Regions from separate parts of the Homo sapiens genome. Here all the other regions are linked to region 1. Evidence: promoter capture Hi-C in 16 types of primary human blood cells and fetal thymus (Javierre and others, 2016). All regions are on one chromosome and are shown on one strand. The core of a region is centred on a gene start or on the middle of the fragment in contact, and the rest is flanking DNA. Distances in the headings are between cores, read along the strand shown. Region 1 holds the start of TMEM81 (transmembrane protein 81). Region 2 overlaps TMCC2 (transmembrane and coiled-coil domain family 2). Region 3 overlaps TMCC2 (transmembrane and coiled-coil domain family 2).

Region 1 (4,038 bases), core at 1,154-3,653:
GTGCAAACTATGGGACTTAGAGGGTTTCTGCCATCTTTCCACGTGTGAAGTAGCTTGGTTTCCTCTGCCTGTGCATTTGGATGTTTGTGCTATGTCCACCTCCTAAACTGGCTACTGAGAAAATCATCTTCAGCCCTGTCAGATTGTCTCTGGCAGTAGCTCCTAATAATTATTTATGTTTTTGGAATTTTTTTTTCAACTTTTAAAAAACCTTCTATCCATTTCAATTTGAATTATTTGATTTGTACAATATATGTATATTCTCTTCTTCCTTTTTGTCATCCCTGCCCTGCCACCCCCAAAATTTTGTTTTTAAAAATATTCTGGGCTGGGCATGGTGGCTCACACCTGTAATCCCAGCACTTGGGGAGGCCGAGGCTGGTGGATCATCTGAGGTCAGGTGTTTGAGACCAGCCTGGTCAACATGGTGAAACCCCGTCTCTACTAAAAATACAAAAATTAGCTGGGCGTGGTGGCGGGCACCTGTAATCCTAGCTACTCGGGAGGCTGAGGCAGGAGAATTGCTTGAATCCAGGAGGCAGAGGTTGCAGTGAGCTGAGATTGCGCCACTGCACTCCAGCCTGGGTGACAGAGCAAGACTCCATCTCAAAAAAAAAAAAAAAAAAAAATCTGTAGTTTTGTACAAGATGAGACTTAGCCTTGGGTACTTCTTGCTGAAGCTTTAATGCTTTGTAAATAAAATCGGATGTTTATTAAAGAACAGGTGTAGATGTTTATTTGTAAACACTGCTCACTTCTGGAACTCTCTGGCCACTTTGCTTTAGTACAAAGGAAAGTGTGATTTCCTGTGTTGATACTAGATCTTTCAGTGTGGAAAGATAGATCTGGAAGGGGTAGGGAGTGGACAGGTAGTCTAGATTTCTGCCTCTAGATGAGATTGTAAATAAATGATGCAAGTGGAAAAGTTGTTGATCAAAAAGATCATCTAGGAATGATCTGTCTTCCAATTATTTAACTCAATATAGTTTTGCAATTACTCTGAAGAGGCCGTAGGGCTAGGCATTCTGGAGGTTACAAAAATGCATGCTAGGAAGTTCCTGTCTTCCAAGGACCTTTCTTCAAGTCTAAGTAAGTACGGTTGAATTCTTATTAGCCTTTTTTTTTTTTTGAATGAAGCAGCTTTAAAATTTATTAAATGCTCGTTGTCTCCTAAAGATAAGATGTTTCACAAAGTCTATGTAAGTCTTTGATTTTAATGTCAAATTTGAGGGTCTACTTATTAATCTTATGTGATTGAGAACTCCATCTTTGACATCATAGCTGTTTCATAGCAACCTTGACCTACGTGAATAATGAGCTCTATTCTGTAGGATAAAGGGAGTAGGCCAAGAGTCAGGGAGCATCATGCATCCTCTCACTCAAAATATATCTTCAGTATCCTTGGGAAGGAAGAGTGCCTAAAAGGGGGAGAGGAGCTGCCTTTAACACAACCTTAAACATTCTGATTTGAAAAGGTCATCTTGGCCCTTGTCTTTATGAATTTCCATTTCTATTTAAAATTCCTTACACATTGAACAGTGTTTCACACTTTACAAAGTGTTCTCACATACAGTATATCATTCAGTGCTCTAAGTGACCTTCCTCAGATAGGCAAGGAGGTCTTAAGTTACAAAGGAGGAAACAGAAATTCAGGAAGGGTAAGTTACTTGCCTCCTAGTCCAGAGTTCTTAATCCTTTTTATAGGAAGTTTAGGAACATTAAAATAATTCAAGTTAATCTTCCTTTTTTTAGACTTTAGTATTTGTTTTATTTGGTGACATTTAACTGGGGCTTTTGAAACCCTTAATTTAGATCCTAGTTTATAGAGGGGAAGGGGAAGGGTGAGGAAGAGTGTAACTTCACTATGCATTTGAGGTAATCTGGAAATTTACTTCAGTTTCTGAAGTCTTTTCTTCTTTGTCTTCCCAAGAGGTGGATTTAAAGTCATTAAGAGAACACGAAAACGGCCAGCGCGGTGGCTCATGCCTGTAATCCCAGCACTTTGGGGGGCTGAGGTGGGTGAATTGCTTGAACCCAGGAGTTGGAGACAAGCCTCGACAACATGGTGAAACCCCGTATCTACAAAAAATAGAAAAATTAGCCAGGTGTGATAGCCTGCACCTGTAGTCCCAGCTACCTAGGAGGCTGAGGTGGCAGGATCACTTGAGCCTAGGAGGTTGAGGCTGCAGTGAGCTGTGATCATGTTACTGCACTCCAGCCTGGGTTGACAGTGAGGCCCTGCCTCAAAAAAAAAAAAAAAAAAAAAAAGCGTGAAGACTAGTAGGTAAGGTGGTTATTTTATTAACAACGATAGTTAGTAAAGCAACACCATTGTGATTTTTTTCCTGCCTTGTGGCCTCACCTGTTTATAAGGACTGGACTTTTATTTATTAAGTTGTGTTGTTTTATTGACAATACATGCATCATATCTTTTGACTTTGAAGGATATCTCATGTCAAAGGAATCAAGTTATGATTTATAGAGGATTCAGCTGGAATACCTTGTGGGTGCTGGCTGAGGGTGGCAAAACGCCTACCGAGACATGAAGGTTTTAGCCACTAGTTTTGTCCTTGGGAGCCTGGGGTTGGCCTTCTACCTGCCTTTGGTGGTGACTACACCTAAAACACTGGCCATCCCTGAGAAGCTGCAAGAAGCTGTGGGGAAAGTTATCATCAATGCCACAACCTGTACTGTCACCTGTGGCCTTGGCTATAAGGAGGAGACCGTCTGTGAGGTGGGCCCTGATGGAGTGAGAAGGAAATGTCAGACTCGGCGCTTAGAATGTCTGACCAACTGGATCTGTGGGATGCTCCATTTCACCATTCTCATTGGCAAGGAATTTGAGCTTAGCTGTCTGAGTTCAGACATCTTGGAGTTTGGACAGGAAGCTTTCCGGTTCACCTGGAGACTTGCTCGAGGTGTCATCTCCACTGACGATGAGGTCTTCAAACCCTTTCAAGCCAACTCCCACTTTGTGAAGTTTAAATATGCTCAGGAGTATGACTCTGGGACATATCGCTGTGATGTGCAGCTGGTAAAAAACTTGAGACTCGTCAAGAGGCTCTATTTTGGGTTGAGGGTCCTTCCTCCTAACTTGGTGAATCTGAATTTCCATCAGTCACTTACTGAGGATCAGAAGTTAATAGATGAGGGATTGGAAGTTAATCTGGACAGCTACTCCAAGCCTCACCACCCAAAGTGGAAAAAGAAGGTGGCGTCAGCCTTGGGAATAGGAATTGCCATTGGAGTGGTTGGTGGCGTGTTGGTGAGGATTGTCCTCTGTGCGCTAAGGGGGGGCCTGCAGCAGTGACAGCTTCAAGAACTTAACAGCCTTGCTCCTGAAGAACTGGCTGCCCAGGAAGCCAAGCTAGCTTTTTAGGGGAGTGTTCCAGCTGCTGGTAGTGGATCAGCTTAGAGGGAACACTCCCACAGCCAAAAGAATGAGTGGGAGAAATGGAGGGGACAATCTCCTGGGAGCTATGCGCAGTAACCTAACTTCCTTATGTCCCATGGATCTCTTCCTGATCTTCCCTGCCCATTGGGTACCCAGGAAACTGCAAGCATTGCCTGTGTTCCTGGGAAGAGTTCTAAGAAGCTTGCATTCATTTTCTACCCTTTATGACTTGGATGCCTCCCCACCTCCATTTCCCCTCTTCTGAGCTGTGTATTCATGTAGAGGGATGTATTCAGCCTTTTTAGTGAACATTTTTTTTCAATAAAAGTAATTCACAGTAGCTGTATGGAGACCTTTTTCTGCTCTTCAGTTTCTTGTATTTATTTAAATTGTCCCATAATCAGTCTGGCTTCATTTTCCTCAGGTTTCTTAGAATAGACATTAAACCAATTGTCTGCTTTTGGGGGCAGGGGGTGCAGTGCATAAGCCTATGGCAGGGGTTGTTAGTAATGACATCCAACTCAGGTGTGTAACAGTCACTAAATATTAACAAATTGCCTGTTCTGCCCAGGTAAATCCCCTGTTTGGTATTAAATTGAATTTCTTGGCAAAACACTAGATCCTTCACCTGGTAGGTTTCCTCT
Region 2 (4,038 bases), core at 821-3,320, 180 kb before region 1:
TGGGTCTCCAATCACAGAACATCACTTTGCTCTCCTTCCCCGTGGAGGGAGCTGGCATGTCTGAAGAAGGTGGGGAGCTCTCCATGCCCTGCCTTCCCCAGCACATGTACCCAGGGTGACAGCTACCTTTCAGGACTCGATGGAGAGAGGGCAACCAAGGTAAACAGAGCCAAGGAGCTGGTACACAGATAGGGACAGCTTTAACAAAGGAAAGATTATGCTTTAACAAAGGAAAGAAAATTAGTGAACAAGAAGAAAAAGATGAGAAAGCTGTTCAGAGTGCTGGAACAGGACAGAGGGTGAGAAAAGGAGAAAGACTTGCCAAAAAGAACAGCCATGAGACAGGATACAGGGTCTGCGGAAGGTAAAGGAAAGGGCTTTAAAGTTGGAGTTGGGCACTAATTTAGATCCTGGCTCTGTCACTTACCAGCTGAGAGCTATCAGGACGATGAGATGAAACACTGAGTAAAGGGCATAAAGCAGGTGCTTAGAAACAAATACGAACAAATTAAGAGACGCTTCACACCCTTAGAATGACTATAATAATTTTTTTTTTTTTGAGACGGGTTCTCACTCCATGGCCTAGACTGGAGTGCAATGGCATGATCGTGGATCACTGTAGTCTCGACGTCCCAGGCTTAAGCAATCCTCCCACCTCAGCTTCCTAAGTAGCTGGGGCCACAGGCATGAGTCACCAAGCCCAGCCCCTAGTAATTTTTAGAAAGGAAATAAGTGGGCTGCACACAGCGGCTCACACCTGTGGTCCCAGCACTTTTGGAGGCCAAAATGGGAAAATTGCTTGAGTCCAGGAGTTTAAGACCAGCCTGGGCAACACAGCAAGACCTGTCTCTACAAAAAATAAAAAAACAGCCAGGTGTGGTGGTGCATGCCTGTAGTCCCAGCTACTCAGGAAGCTGAGGCAGGAGGATGGCTTGAGCCCAGGAGTTCGAGGCTGCAGTGAGCTATGATCACACACACCACTGCACTCCAGCCTGGGCAACAGAGTGAGACCCTGCTTCAAAAAAAAAAAAAAAAAAAAAAGGAAATAAGTGTTGGTGAGCATGTGCAGGAATTGGAAGCTTTGTGCAACATACCTAAAACATAAAACAGCACAGCTGATGTGGAAAACAGTTTGGGAGTTCCTCAAAAAGTTAACATAGAATTACTTTATGACCCAGCAATTCCACTCCTAGATATTTTCAATTCCCAAACGAATTGAAAATGAGTATTCAACACTCATTTGTACACAAATGCTCATAGCAGCAATATTCACAATAGCCAAAAGGTGGACATAACTCAGATGTCCATTAACTGATGAATGGGTCAACAAAATGTGACATTTCTTGCAATGAAATACTATTCGGCCATGAAAGAAACAAAGTGCCGGTAATGCTCCAACATGGGTGAACCTCAATAATGTTAGGCTAAGTGAAACAAACCAGACAAGAAAGGCCACATAATGAATGATTCCATTATATGAAATATCCAGAACAGTTAAATCCACAGAGACAGAAAGCTGATTAGTGGCTGCCAGGGGGCTGGGGTGGGGGTGGGGGAAGGAATGGGGAGTAACAGCTTAATGGGTACAGGGTTTCCTTGGGGTTGCTGAAAATGTTTAGGAACTAGATGGAGGTGATGTTTCAACAATTGGGTGTGGAAGGCCAGGGTCCTCCACTGGCCTGGGCCACAGCTCCCACCATTGTCCATTACAGAGTGGGTATGCAGGAGGGTCTCTGGGTCCTTCAGCTCACTGTGTCAGGTTTAGTAGGGTAGCAGCTCTTCCTAACACACTCCTAATACCCCTGTCGTGCAGCTGGTTGACTAAAAAGACCAGATCACTCAACTCCCAGTCAGTAGCAGGCAGAAATGCCCAAGGTTCCCCAGCCCAAAGCAGGGCACAGGTGGGCTACACAGGAACCACTGCTCCTCTCTCCAGACCATCACAGAGTCCTGTTTGGCCCATGCCACCCAGCTCCCTATCCATGCCCAGCCACCAGCACCACACCTGGAGTTGTGGCCCCCACACCATGACCTCCTCACCCCACCCCAACCTGCCTGAGATAGGCTGGCCACTCCACAGGTACCTGACTCCAGATTAATCCTTGTGAATGGGCTGGGCAAGCTCTAAGAGGAGAACCGTGGAGGGAGAGTCATACTTCTTCCATGATCCCCCTCCACACCAGAATGCCCCCTGCTCAGGGACCCTACCAGCCAGGGCCTTACATCTTGCTCTACACAAAGGCTGAGGGCTGAGAAGTGCTGACAAATGTCTGGATAAGCCAGAGCTGGGACGTTCTCTCAAGTGTCCAAGACCCAACTTTCCCTATTCCTCTTCCTGCTCCAGTGAGATCTACCCTCAGCCCACGCACACCTGGGGGCTCCCCTCCACATGGCCTTGGTGGCACCCCGGACTCACCTCCCTGGCCCCTTTCACAACACTAAATGAAGCTGGATTAGGCTCTCTGCCAGATTATAAGGAGCTGCCGGATCAGGGCTTCCCAGCCCTGGCTCCCGTGGAACTTCCTGGGGTTTCCACCTCCTCCCAGGGCCTGAACTCAGTGTCCTCGTGTCAACCCGGCCCTGGACATGGGACACCGGTGCTTCCTCTCACACACTAGCCCAGCAGCCTGGATCCCCGATATCCGGGAGGCACACAGTAGACACTGTTGGAACAGAAAGTATCCAGGCTTAAGTGAAGCTGTGTGGAGGGAGGGGAAGGGCACTAGCTATGTAAATTGGGAAATGTGAATCGTGGTTCTCTTTCTTCATAATGTAAATGCATTAAGCAGTTTTCAAGATAGACCACAGAAACAGCTGCCATTTGCAAGGAACATGTGCTCCACACCTGTGCTCCCAGCTGCACGAGAAAGCTGTACCTCTGACCCTCCTCCCTCTGAGGCAGGCAGCCCCTTCCCAGACTCGCAAAGAACCCGTTAGGGTCCCCACAGCAGGCTGACAGGGAGAAAGGGGCCTTCTCATGTTAGCCATCTGCTCAGGAGTTGGAAAGACAATATAAGGTCACTCTTAGATGGAAAAAAAAAAAAGACAAAGAAAAAGCTTTGGGGGTTCCTATGCTTCCCTTTAGGAAAGCAGGGCAGCCCAGTCATCCTGACAATGGAGTCAGGTGTCAACCCTGGCTTGTCTATGGGTCTAGACAAGCAGGCCCAGGCCTGTGCAGAACACCGCTCCTGGGAGCAAGGTCTGGGCTCCCAGTGGGTCAGAGCCCAGCAGGCGAGTGCGGCCCCGGGGCTGGCAGGCCTGGGTGACTCAGCAGAGATGCTTCAATCTGCTGACTGCTGCCCCGTGACTCTGATTTCAGTGGCCCTCTCGGGATAAAGAACGCTCAGATTCCCTTTTTCTACCCATTCTCAGATGGAAGGGGAGGTCAACCAGACTAGGATGGAGAGGAAAGCCTACAGCCAGCTAAAATCCTTCAACCCAAAGAGGTCATGTGACCTTACGGTAAAGTTGGGAGAGAAGGAACTTGAAATTTCTTGTACCAACCCAACATTCCAGCAAGAGCAGGGTGGAAAAATTATTCCAACCCTTGGTCCTGAAGTCAGAGGCTTTCCCCATTCCATTTTTTCAACTCAGCAGGAATAGCCCGGTGGGGCTGGTGGCTCTCTGCCTTCCTGGTGAGGATATGTGGGTAACAGGAAGCTGCTCACTCCAGCTCTGGATGTGTCATCACAGCTGACCCGGGTGCTCCCAGGTGGGCAAAGGGGTGGGGGTGGAGAAAGAGCCTACCTATCGGTTTAATTGGTGCCTGGGAGCCTAAGCGGCTTTTCTCAAGAGGGCAGGCACCACGTGCTCAGACACTGAATGGGACACATGTGGGGCAGTATGGACCTGAGTCAGTTCACCATGGGCACAAGGGGGTGACAAAACCCCTGTAGCAAGGCCCCAGCTGCCACATGGGGGATTCGAAGGGCAGAGCATGCCCTCAGTAGCTTTAAAAGGCATCTCGCTCTACTACAAGGGGATTTCAGGTGCAAACTACCGAGAGACAAGGAAAGTCACTCACTCATCCTTTCAAGC
Region 3 (4,038 bases), core at 865-3,364, 160 kb before region 1:
GATTACAGGTGTGAGCCATGTGCCTGGCCCCAATCTACTCTTTATATTGAGACCTAGAGGAACCTCGTCCTGCCAGTTTCCTGCCTAGCACCCTTTGATAGCTTCACACTACTCCCAGAATCAACATGGCAAGGCCTTTTGTGATGTGGCCTCTGCCTACCTGTCAATCCCCAAAAGTGCTAGATGCTCTGGCCATAATGAACCCCCAGTAGCCCCTAGCACCAGCTTGTGTGCTTTTGTACATACTATGCCCTCTCTTCCCCCTTCCCCTCTCCCAGTTCTTCCCTGGCTAAATTATTCAAGATTCAGCTCAATGGTTTCCTCAAACAGGTCTTTGCCAGCTCCTCGCTCTCTCCTCAAGTCCCCTCTCCCTTGAAGCTCCCACAGCAGCTCCCATCTCTCTGTCCATTCACCCACTTGTACCCCCTCTAGAGTGAGCTCCACAAGGACAGCAACACTGGCTTGTTCATTCTTGTAGCACAACATAAGAATTCAATAGATACTTGTTACACGAATAAAAGAACGAATATATAAATTCATGAAGTGCTAAACTAGCTTTTCTCCTTCCCAAATCACCCTTCATGGATCCCCTATCTTCTTTGGTTGGTGCCAATAGTAAAGATGATACTATGCCAGGCTCTATTCCAAGTATTTTACATATATTAACTCATTTAGTCCTACAACTGTACTATTATTATCCTCATTTTCAATTGGTGAAACAAGCACAAAGAGGTTAACTGAGTAAGTGGCAGAACCAGAGTTGCTTCCAGTCTGTGCTTTAAACTACTATACCTATTGCCTCTTGATAGCCCATTTAAGGAAAACAAGTCAACATTAATATCAGCATGAGCAAAACACAATTTTGAAAAACAGCCCTAAGGAAACAAAAATTAGCCATCCTGGGAATCATCTCTTGTTTTTGGCCTAGTCATACCCGACTCCTTTAACCAAGGTAGATAACTCTGCAGACGGTGGGGTGTCAGTATCTGCCAGGGAGGGCCCCTGGCTCAGCTCCCCAGGTCTCAAGGCCCCTCAGCGGATGGCCCTTGCCTCTGAGTCTCCCCCTGCCCCAGAAGGCCCATCTCACCTTGTCCCCGATGCCTTCGGCCTCCTCAGCCAGGAGGTACACGTTGCTGCCGTCGGCCAGCAGCAGAGCAGTGTCGGTGGTGGAGGAAGAGCGGGGACGGCACTGGTGCTGGTGCAGGATGGCGGCCAGGCTGCTGTCCTGGGGGGCCTTGCGCAGCAGGTGAGGGCTGCCACGCTGGGGCTCCAGGGAGCTACTCTTGGTGCGCCGGCTGCTGCTCCCGCTGCTGCCGCCCCCACTGCTGCTGTGCAGGCTGGCGCCCCGCTTGATGGAGGGCCGGGAGCGGATCTGCTGCAGCACGCGGTTGAAGGCGGTGGGCCGGGCGGGCAGGTCGTGCAGGGACATGGCGTAGGAGACGCGATGCATCTCCGGAGAGCGCTCCTTCTCATCTGGGGAGTCATGGTCGGACATACCCTGCTGCTGCTGATGCTGCTGGGAATCCTGAGACGTCTGGTGCTCCCTTTCCCGAGACCGACGGCGGCTGTGGAACAGGTGCTTCAGACCGTGGCCAAACATGGAGCCCTCTGACAGCTGCTGGATTTTCTTAAGGGGGAGAGATGAAGAACCCTGGTGAGTGGAAAGCTCTTGATTGCCTAGTCAGTAGGAGGGTGAAGGTGAAGGGTCTGTCCTTGGTAGACTGGCATAGCTAATGCAGCCATCTGAACCTGGAAGATCTCTGTGGATGGCCCGTCGTGCATAAAGGGTCAGTTTGCGAAAAGGTGGCAACCCAGACCCATCCTTTCATTCCGAAAGAAGTGTGCCCCCACGGTTTTCCACGGGACATTCCTAATCAAAATGAAGGTTCAGAGTTTCTAGGAATGATGCTCTCAGGGCTTCAGTCTGGGGCTTAATGGCATACACAGGTAGCACTTGGCTCATGGGGTTGTATCCCTCTAGATTGATCCCCACCCCCAGTCCTTCCCTCCTTCCAAGTTAGACGACCCTTCAAGCTGTACTAGTTCTTTCAGGCCACCAAGCATCGATTTCCAAAGTTGCCTAATTCCAACATTCCCCCAGTAAAATCAGGGTCATACAATCAAGTTATACTGTTGTAGCAGACACTGCTAATTGCCTACCCAATATCTATTTTTCTTTCTTACCAACCAAACTGCAAGGACTTAACTCACCTTGCTAAAAATTCCTGCTTCATCAGACTCCCCTTGCAGCTAGGAGTAGCCACATGACACAGTTTGGGCCAACGAAAAGCAAGGTGAGAGCTTCTGGGAGCACTTTTGCTTTCCTGATAAAGGCACTGGCCCTTCCCAAATCTTCCCATCTGGAATGGGAACGTAGTGCCTGGAGATGCAGTGGCCATTCTGCAACCACAAGATGACATGGTTGACGATGAGGGTCTGCACACAGATGGTGGAGCCCAAGGGACAGGCCTGGGAACTTGAAGGTCTATGGAGCCACCAAACCAGTTGTGAACATCTATCCTGGGATTCTTGTTGCATGAAATAAACCCATCTTTGTCTACACAACTCTAGTATGATTTTCTGTTATTTGCAACCAATTTCATTCCTGATATGGTTGGCAATGAAATAAACTTTACTTCTATGAGCAAACCTTGTGACATAGTAATGTGACCAATTCTTTAGCATACACATCAGAACAAGCTATCCAAATGAGTGTCTTTCCCCTTAGATCCAAAGCATAGAGGCACTGCAACCCGGTGCCGCCCAGGCCACAGCCTTTCCTCTTAGCCCTGTTGCTGAGATTCTCCAGCTGCTCTTCCGGCAAGACTGCTCACAGAGGGGCAGCTGGATGGCCTGCCAGGGCGAGCAACTGTGGTATAATTCCAGACAGCTGCTTCTGTCAGGGGACGGCTTATCCGGCCAGGTTGAGCCCTCTATGAGAGCTTTGGAGCTGTTGGAAGGAGGGGTGAGACTTGGAGGACCAGGAGACACCTCACATTCTGCAGCTCCTTAGAGGAAAACTCAGGGCCCAGCCATTTGGGACTCAATGAGCCATAGCAGGATTTCCTGTGAGGAACAACCCACAATCTTACCAGGCTGCCTCAGTCATTTAAAAAATGTTCCAAAAAATTACACAGACTGGATTTTCTTTTTTTTTTTCCCTAGAAACAAACTTACAGAGCAGAAAATCTAGACCATATAGAAACCAAGAAAAAGCAACCTGACATCCTCTAAATGAGCTGACCCCACTCTTAGGTTACTTTACAACTCAGCCTTGAGTTTGTGCAGATGGCTGCGCTTACAGCTGGATACAATAACTGTACTATTATGTATTTGTGTAAAATTTTAGGATTTTCATTTTTCACCTCATTTGAGTATCCCCAGAATCCTTAAAGTAGATGAGGCCCTTACATCACCCATTTTACAGACCAGATAAATTACATCATCACAACTCATCACGAACTAACGGTTTTTCATTTCAAAGGAGATTTGTATCCTGCATTATCCCATTGATTCTCCTAAATAGTAACAAAAGCAACAACGGAAACATCTCCATTTAGAGAAGAGGAAATTAAGGCTACCATGATTCCTTCTCAAGAACTGAATTCTGGGGCAGCCCTCGAGATCTTAAGTTACACAATGCCAGCTTTTCCCACAGGAGTTACCATCCCCTGGGGGCCAGCTTGAGGCAGGGTCACAAGGCTCACCTGAATCTGTGCTGGGGAGAACCAAGATGTCAACTCTGCCATGGACTTGGAACAGGCCAGATCCTGCAGCCTTCAGACCAGGGACCTGCCAGGACACCTCCCCCTTCCCCAGGCCCAAGCTGATGTGAGACCTCCCTCCAGACACTGTGATGGGGCCAGCTGGCTCTGGCATTTGCCCAGCTGCCTCTGCCAAATCGTCACATTCCATAATACGAATTGTCTTTCTAGCGTTCTATTCCAGGTCCCTTCCTCTTCTCCCCCCATTCCTAAACTGGCTTCTCCAACACTGAGGATCCACTCAGGCAGAAAGAGTTTCCCTTCTAAAGACTTC

Evidence for each region. The method cuts DNA at HindIII sites, captures the fragments that hold promoters and counts their contacts. A CHiCAGO score of 5 or more calls a contact.
Region 2: a contact is called between a fragment that was not itself captured here and the fragment with the promoter of TMEM81 in region 1, in 2 of 17 cell types (endothelial precursors and megakaryocytes). The highest score is 5.5, in endothelial precursors.
Region 3: a contact is called between a fragment that was not itself captured here and the fragment with the promoter of TMEM81 in region 1, in 1 of 17 cell types (endothelial precursors). The highest score is 5.6, in endothelial precursors.

What each region holds. Positions count from the first base shown.
Region 1 is chr1:205,082,825-205,086,862 of GRCh38, reverse strand. It overlaps TMEM81 (transmembrane protein 81), which reads left to right and starts at 2,403. Exons shown (of 1, transcript NM_203376.2): 1 at 2,403-3,734. The coding sequence starts at 2,543. The coding sequence ends at 3,310. RBBP5 (RB binding protein 5, histone lysine methyltransferase complex subunit) reads left to right here. Exons shown (of 14, transcript NM_005057.4): 14 at 1-721. The HindIII fragment of the contact is 2,208 bases long and covers 683-2,890 here.
Region 2 is chr1:205,258,200-205,262,237 of GRCh38, reverse strand. All of the region lies in intron 2 of TMCC2 (transmembrane and coiled-coil domain family 2), which reads right to left. Among named protein-coding and RNA genes, the nearest start is that of TMCC2-AS1, 23 kb to the right of the region's middle. The HindIII fragment of the contact is 1,978 bases long and covers 1,082-3,059 here.
Region 3 is chr1:205,239,094-205,243,131 of GRCh38, reverse strand. It overlaps TMCC2 (transmembrane and coiled-coil domain family 2), which reads right to left. Exons shown (of 5, transcript NM_014858.4): 2 at 1,088-1,627. Among named protein-coding and RNA genes, the nearest start is that of TMCC2-AS1, 3.8 kb to the right of the region's middle. The HindIII fragment of the contact is 6,983 bases long and covers 1-4,038 here.